Linked DNA regions of Homo sapiens: region 2 is linked to region 1. The links are contacts of gene promoters, found by promoter capture Hi-C in blood cells and fetal thymus (Javierre and others, 2016). All regions are on one chromosome and are shown on one strand. The core of a region is centred on a gene start or on the middle of the fragment in contact, and the rest is flanking DNA. Distances in the headings are between cores, read along the strand shown.

Region 1 (4,169 bases), core at 300-2,799:
AGATAGCATCCCATAGCATTCCTACCACCCTCTCTAGGAATCTATCTCCTATCCCTGTCCAGACCACAGATCCCTCTTTCCTATTAACTCAGAATGCCCTGGAATTCCACCAACTTGTGAATACAGAGCCCCAAGGTGGGAGTGCTTCACAGTCCCGACAACTAGCACTGGTTCAGCAAACCACTTCATATCGTCCAGCCTTGGTTTCCTCAGCTATAAAAACAGAGATTCCACTTTCTTCATCCAGGGTGGTTGGCAAAAAAGAGTGGCCACCTCTGTGTTTCCTCTGCTTCTCTCTACTACAGCTCTTACCACACTGAATCGCAGTTATCTGTTATGTCTACTTGTCGCATCATGTTTGAATGAACTTTCTGAAGACAGGGATTGTGCCCAGAGTCAATTACAGGGCCTGGTACTCGGTAGCCACTCAACATTGTTGAATTGCTGGGCACGGTGGCTCATGCAAGAGGATCACTTGAGCCCAGGAGTATGAGACCAGCTTGGACAACATAGCAAGATGCCGTCTCTACAAAAGGCGTTGAAAAATTTGCTGGGGGTAGTGGTGCACACCGGTAGTCTCAGCTACTTGGGAGGCTGAGGTGGGAAGATTGTTTGAGCCTAGGGGGTTGAGGCTGCAGTAAGCAGTGAACAGGCCACTGCACTCCAGCCAGGGCAACAGAGCGAGATCTTGTCTGAAAATAAAACAAAAACGAGAGAGAAAGAAAGAAAGAGAGGAAGGTAGGAAGGAAGGAAGGAAGGAAAAAAGGAAGGAAGGAAGGAAGGAAAAGAAAAGAAAAAAAAACTGTTGAATTGTTTTTTACTACTAGTCCACTACAGTGATTTGTGTATATAATCCTCTATAATAATCCCTAGATCGTGAACTCCTCCTGGAAGGAAGCGACCGTGTAGATTCAGATTAGCCAGTCTCTCTTCCCTAATCTTCGTGTTTGTTTTTATAGCATTTACCATTATCTGTAATTATTTTATCACTTATTTGTTTATTGGCAATACATCTCCAACTGGATTATAAACTCCATAAGAGCAAGGATCTTGACATTTTAAATATTCTTATTCCTATGTTTAAAACTGGCAGATAGCACACACACACAGTCAATGCACACACACATATAAGTATATATGGAATGAATGCATCTTAGCTTTGCTGCTTATTAGATATGGTCCTTGAAAAAATTACTCGGGCAAGTTTGTGAAAGTGCCTGGCACAAGGTGTTTCGCAGAAGCAAAAAGCCGTCTTTTTCCAGTCACAGCTATTCAAGGTATAGTAAGTGAATCAAATGAGCCCCTTACCTCCCATCTACATATTCCCCGATATATTTGCTCCCTGTGTACTCCATGGCGCCTGTTTTTAGCTTCCAGCTGTTAGGATCCGGAGTCTCAGTGGATACGGCATCACTATGACAACCTGGAGGGGTGGGCGGAGCCGAATCGAAGCCCCACCCCGCTGGAGGCTGAAAAGTTCTTGGTATTGCGCACGCTCCCTCGCTCGTGGTTGGGCAGGGCAATACGCCTGCGTGTTGCCGGATGCGCATGCGCAGGCGCCGTGTGGCACTCGGCGGTCGAAAGGGGAGTTCAAGGAGACGGGGGCGACGCGGCTGAGGGCTTCTCGTCGGGGTCGGGGCTGCAGCCGTCATGCCGGGGATAGTGGAGCTGCCCACTCTAGAGGAGCTGAAAGTAGATGAGGTGAGGCTATCCGGAGGACAGGCAAGGGAGACATGGGGCTGCGGCTTCTCGGGCCTGGGCCTAGCCCCCCTTGGGCTCCGCGGATCCTGGGACCCGGGCCCCCCTCCCCAGTCCTCCAACGCATATACAGGTCGACCCCCGGAGGTCCCCTCCGCAGCTTTGGGAGTCGCCTCCCCTCTCTACCCCACCCTGTCGCATCTTGCAGTGGCTCTAGAATCCTCCCCCTTTCGCCCTCCACAGCGACCTATTTCTCCTTCCGTGAATAATAGTGATACATTTTATTAAGCACCAACCAGTCATTTTACTTAGCTTATGTCGCTTAATCCTCAAACTTGCATGCGAGGTGAGTATACAACCCTAGGGGCTCACAGTCGAGGGAGACGGTCATCTACCTTAAAGTGGTATCACCGGTGCAGAGTGCATAGAGTGGGGTGACGAAGCCGCGGGAAAATGAGACAATATTGGAGCGTGCATCTACTCACAGCCTTGGGAAGGTGTTTGGTAACAGGACCCATTTAAAGCATTCGTTTATTCAAGAGATATCATTTCAGTAATTAACGTGTACACATAACGCTGGAAGAGATATACTTCGTGCTTTCATGGACTTTACAATCCAGTAGGGAGACAGACACATAAAGAGGCAGTCACAGTACAATGTAGTTAGTGCTGTGAGGAGTGAAGTAGAAACATACCCTACTAATTATAGCTAACATGATCAAGTCCTTTCTAGATACCAGGCAGGATGCTAATTACTTTCCATGCATTAATTCATTGAATCCTCCCAGCAACACTATAAGGTAGGATATATATATATATACACACACATACACATATATATACACACACACAATTGGTGTGTATATATATATACCATATATATATATACACAATTGGTGTATATATATATATGTATATACCATATATATATACACACACACAATTGGTCATATATATATATATACACACACACACACAATTGGTCGTAGCGTTATAAATAAGGAATTAGTCCCCGAGAGTAGAAATGATTTGCCCAAGGTCACGGAGCTCGTAAGTAATAGAGCTGGAAGTGAACCCAAGTCTGATTTTAAAACCAATGCTTTTCCACTATATTATGGGTGAAAACTCACAAGAATGAGACGGCCTAGCAGAACTTGTGTGTTTAGGGAGCCAAGTACAGTTTGATGTGACCCTAGTGGTGGTGGTGGGAAGCAGCAGGTGCTGAGCCTGGAGAGGCAACTTGGGCTGAGATAGGACTTGGAAGCAGCTTCTACAAGGCCAGACCAAACAGTTTGGACTTGATCCAGTAAGGGAGGTGGTGGGAAGAGTGGAAGGTTTTAAGGCAGAGGAGTGTCATGGCAGGGCTGGATAGTAGAACAGGCTATATTAAAGGAGAGGAAGGCCAAGACTAGAAATGATGTACCAGCAATGATATACCCGGCACTATGTTAAGTGTTTTGTTTGTTTGTTTTGTTGTTTTTGAGAGTCTCGCTCTGTTGCCCAGGCTGGAGTGCAGTGGCGCGATATTGGCCCACTGCAACCTCCGCCTCCCGGGTTCAAGCGATTCTGCTGCCTCAGCCTCCCGAGTAACTGCGACTACAGGCGCTCATCACCACACCCGGCTAATATTGTGTATTTTTAGTAGAGACGGGGTTTCACCGTGTTAGCCAGGATGGTTTCGATCTCCTGACCTCGTAATCTGCCTGCCTCGGCCTCCCAAAGTGCTGGGATTACAGGCGTGAGCCACCGCGCCTGGCCGTATGTTAAGTCTTCTACCTGCAATGCTTCATTTAATCTTAGATGCCTGTGAGAGTGGCAACTGTTATTTTCCTCAGAGGAAGAAATTATTAGCTATGTTCAGGGACTTTATTATATTAAAGTGACATTTACTCTGAGGTGGCAGAGGGGAGCTGCCATGTGGCCCCCACTCTTTTGTTCCCCCCGGCGAACCACCCCCCTGCCCCCACCCCATGTAGCTGGGTTAATCTTGAGTTGCTGTATTTCTTGTTGCAATTTTTATTAGGTTCAACAAACATCTGAAGTTCTACTTCATACAACTGATGTATCTGAAATACATTTGCCTTTAGTCTTCACACAATTGAATGAACATACGAATAATTACATAAATAACTAAAATACAAGACAAGGTGTGATTAAATACTATGAAAGGGGGAAGATGTGGTTTAGGAAAAGATTTGAAGTTGTATCTAAATTCTAGGCCTACCTGCCGGTCACCTTGATTACTTGATTTTAGCATTTGCAGACATGGTTATTTGTAAGATGAGGTGATCCCAGCTATAAAATTCTCTGAAACTATAAAGGGAATAGAGAAAGCACTTTTTGGACATAATGTAAGACATGACTAAATGGCATATGAAGAATGGCATTTATGGGCGGAGATGAAGAGAAGACCCCTCTAAGTGAGGGTAGGGTCTGAGCAAAAGTAAGGAGATGGGAAAATGCAGAGAGTC
Region 2 (4,077 bases), core at 320-2,819, 320 kb before region 1:
TCATCAGTCAGTACCTTTGATATATTTCAAGATCAAGCAGGAATTTCTAATACAGCATCTGATGTCATATAGAAATGAGATACAAAACAATAAAACACAAAGGCCGAGAGACTGGAGGAGGAAATCCAAACTCATCAGCATTTTACTTACTCTGGCTTGACACAGTCAGTAAAATGCTTTGAAAGCCATCCTGGGGAAAAGACAAATTCTGAGTGGAACAATGAGATTTCAGTAGCATGGAGAAATTGATGAGATGGCTGAAATCCACTGAATGTGAAATCTCACTGAGCCAATGCTCCTTAGACATACTGTGAGAGGAATTCACCGCTGCGTCCCCAAGAGACATTGTCACATGTGTGGTTGAGCCTGGAGGAATATATATATGTTTTCGCGCTACACATTGATATTCAAACATAGAATTAAATATCTTACACTTATCTTAAACTTTAAAAAGATCAGAGCAATTAGGCTGGGTGCAGTGGCTCACACCTGTAACCCCAGCACTCTGGGAGGCTGAGGCGGGTGGATCATGAGGTCAGGAGTTCGAGACCAGCCTGACCAACATGGTGAAACTCCGTCTCTACTAAAAATAAAAAATTAGCTGGAAGAATCGCTTGAACCCAGGAGGCGGAGGTTACAGTGTGCCGAGATCTCACCACTGCACTCCAGCCTTGGCAACAGAGCGAGACTCTGTCTCAAACAAACAAACAAACAAAAAAAGATCAGAGCAATTATGTATGGATCTGAAACCATAAGAAAGATTTTCTATCTTGTTGCTTACTTCGTATTATGATTTATTTACCTGGACTTTCAACAGTACCACCCTCCCCACCTTCTAGAATAGTACATATATATCATGATAAAATATGTGGGTATGTCCTTTGAAAAATCACTCAAAATAACTTGTTTTGTTGTCTTTTGGAGTAATTGTTTACATGGAAGAGTTTTTTAATAAATAAAGTGTTATGTCTTAAAAAAAGATTAGGGGTCTATAAACAATGAATAAATTAGAAATAATCATGCACTGTGTAGACAAGCAGGGTATACAGAATTAAATAGGTCATTGCACACAAAATAAGGCAATGAGATTTCCAATGTCAAATAATTGCTTTGTTTCCACAGAAGAAACTATGGAGTCAAGATACTTCGGTCCAAATCCCAGCTTCTCCTCTTCCTATTGCTGTGACTATAAGACTGTCTGCCTTAGCTTTCACATCTAAAGAGTAGAAATAATAACAGTACCACCCAGCTCATATATTGAAGGCTATTGAATCACTTACAATACATCAGCTATTGGAACAGTGTATTAAAAAACATTTAGCAAACAACTTTTAGTACTATCATTTACAGAGACCAGATTCAGAAAGAAAGTAGCTATATCGACTAAACCTTCATTTCTTTTTCAGCACATTTGCAGCAAAATATGTGGCAAATGTAAGAAAATATGAAGACATTCTCTAAGTCAAAAGAACATCTCTATTATACTATGCCACAGTTATCATTTCTTATTCCAAGACATACCATTTTTTTCCTTCAAATTTCCCTAGTGCCCTCCAGCTGATATAAACATGAGCCCTGAGAACCAGAGCAGCGTGTCCGAGTTCCTCCTCCTGGGCCTCCCCATCCGGCCAGAGCAGCAGGCCGTGTTCTTCGCCCTGTTCCTGGGCATGTACCTGACCACGGTGCTGGGGAACCTGCTCATCATGCTGCTCATCCAGCTAGACTCTCACCTTCACACCCCCATGTACTTCTTCCTTAGCCACTTGGCCCTCACTGACATCTCCTTTTCATCTGTCACTGTCCCTAAGATGCTGATGAACATGCAGACTCAGCACCTAGCCGTCTTTTACAAGGGATGCATTTCACAGACATATTTTTTCATATTTTTTGCTGACTTAGACAGTTTCCTTATCACTTCAATGGCATATGACAGGTATGTGGCCATCTGTCATCCTCTACATTATGCCACCATCATGACTCAGAGCCAGTGTGTCATGCTGGTGGCTGGGTCCTGGGTCATCGCTTGTGCGTGTGCTCTTTTGCATACCCTCCTCCTGGCCCAGCTTTCCTTCTGTGCTGACCACATCATCCCTCACTACTTCTGTGACCTTGGTGCCCTGCTCAAGTTGTCCTGCTCAGACACCTCCCTCAATCAGTTAGCAATCTTTACAGCAGCATTGACAGCCATTATGCTTCCATTCCTGTGCATCCTGGTTTCTTATGGTCACATTGGGGTCACCATCCTCCAGATTCCCTCTACCAAGGGCATATGCAAAGCCTTGTCCACTTGTGGATCCCACCTCTCAGTGGTGACTATCTATTATCGGACAATTATTGGTCTCTATTTTCTTCCCCCATCCAGCAACACCAATGACAAGAACATAATTGCTTCAGTGATATACACAGCAGTCACTCCCATGTTGAACCCATTCATTTACAGTCTGAGAAATAAAGACATTAAGGGAGCCCTAAGAAAACTCTTGAGTAGGTCAGGCGCAGTGGCTCATGCCTGTAATCTCAACACTTTGGGAGGCTGAGGCAGACGGATCACCTGAGATCAGGAGTTCGAGACCAGCCTGGCCAACATGGCGAAACCCAGTCTCTACTAAAAATACAAAAAAATTAGCCGGGCATGGTGGTGCATGCCTATAGTCCCAGCTACTCGGGAGACTGAGGCAGAAGAATCACTTGAACCCAGGAGGCGGAGGTTGCAGTGAGCCAAGATCGTGCCACTGCACTCCAGCCTGGGTGACAGAGCAAGACTCTGTCAAAAAAAAGAAAAAAGAAAAAAAAATTATTGAGTAAAAAAAAACCATTATTCTAACTGATATTTACCTTTCTTTTAAAACATCCCATGTAATATTTTTCCTCAATAATACAGAAATACAAATTATTGAAAATATAGCTCACTTGTCTTTCTTCCACAGCTGTCACTCTGAAATGCTTTCCTGATATTATTATTGCATCTGTTTGAGGGAATAGTAAAATAGGATATGTTGTATAGGACTTTGTTTGCTCTTTTCTTGGGTAATGGAATTGGAAAATATTCTGAGCATGTTATGTCACTTTGGCTGGTATGAAAAGGAAGCCATCAGGGCTGACCTTTCCCAGATTTTAAATTTGTTATAAAATGTGTCTGGCCCTTCACACCTCTATTTCTTAGGAATTTTCCACTTTTGTGAAGATATGGCTCCTCTTTCGCCCAGGCACCAGATATCCAGGAAGCTGAAGCCCTTTCAGAAATTTTAAGAAAAACATATGACATTTCTCACTCCTTACATAATAATTAACACACTGCTGTCTTGTCCTTCCAGAATATAGCCCACACTTCCTTTCTCCCCAAACACATACAGATGTTCAGTGACAAAATAAATGTCACCTCAGTTCTCTCAGGGACTGATCTAAGAACTTAATATACCTTAAAATCATCTAACTTAATTCTGACAAAAACTCCAAAAGGTAAGTTTAAAAAACTCAGGCTCTAAAAGGGGAAGAATACCCCAAGATCATATAGTTCGTGAAAGGAAGACTTGAATCTTGGCATCTGATTCCAGAGTGACTCAGTGTAGCAAAGACTATAATAGTTTACATGGAACACTGTGTGGGTTTGAAGAGGAATAATTAGCTCAGTCTGATGGAAGAGGATATAAACAACTTCCCAAAGAAGGCGTTTCTTTACCTGAATCTTAACAGATGAGAACTATCCAGACACACAAGGTTTTATCTTGTTCTGATGATCACAGGAAGAGGGAGTAGTGTGTGTCAGGATGTTAAATTGGAAGTTTCAACTGAGGCACCAAGACCTGGGAGACAACAGATATTAAAGTGAATTGTGACACACAAAATGAAGATATTGATAGGAAATAATAATAATAATCAATATCGTAACACTTGAGCCTCTCAATCTAATGTGGATCTAAAAAGAGCTGAGAGCTGGAGGTAAGAGAGTGTCTTGTAAAGTTTTCTTTCAGAGAAAGCTGCATAGTGAACCCCAAATCCTCCTAACAGGGAGAGGGTTGTTTTTCTCCTTATCTCAAGCTTAATGGAAGAAGCTTCAATAGAACCACTTAGCAAGTT

What was found. The method cuts DNA at HindIII sites, captures the fragments that hold promoters and counts their contacts. A CHiCAGO score of 5 or more calls a contact.
Region 2: a contact is called between the fragment with the promoter of OR1J1 here and the fragment with the promoter of NDUFA8 in region 1, in 4 of 17 cell types (M2 macrophages, M0 macrophages, M1 macrophages and 1 more). The highest score is 9.4, in M2 macrophages.

Annotation. Positions count from the first base shown.
Region 1 is chr9:122,157,159-122,161,327 of GRCh38, reverse strand. NDUFA8 (NADH:ubiquinone oxidoreductase subunit A8) reads left to right here and starts at 1,549. Exons shown (of 4, transcript NM_014222.3): 1 at 1,549-1,701. The coding sequence starts at 1,651. It overlaps MORN5 (MORN repeat containing 5), which reads right to left and starts at 1,420. Exons shown (of 5, transcript NM_198469.4): 1 at 1,309-1,420. The coding sequence starts at 1,355. RefSeq lists an enhancer at 1,344-1,638. The HindIII fragment of the contact is 8,418 bases long and covers 1-4,169 here.
Region 2 is chr9:122,475,418-122,479,494 of GRCh38, reverse strand. It overlaps OR1J1 (olfactory receptor family 1 subfamily J member 1), which reads left to right and starts at 1,569. Exons shown (of 1, transcript NM_001004451.1): 1 at 1,569-2,537. The coding sequence starts at 1,569. The coding sequence ends at 2,537. It also overlaps a transcript of OR1J2 not described here. The HindIII fragment of the contact is 5,266 bases long and covers 1-4,040 here.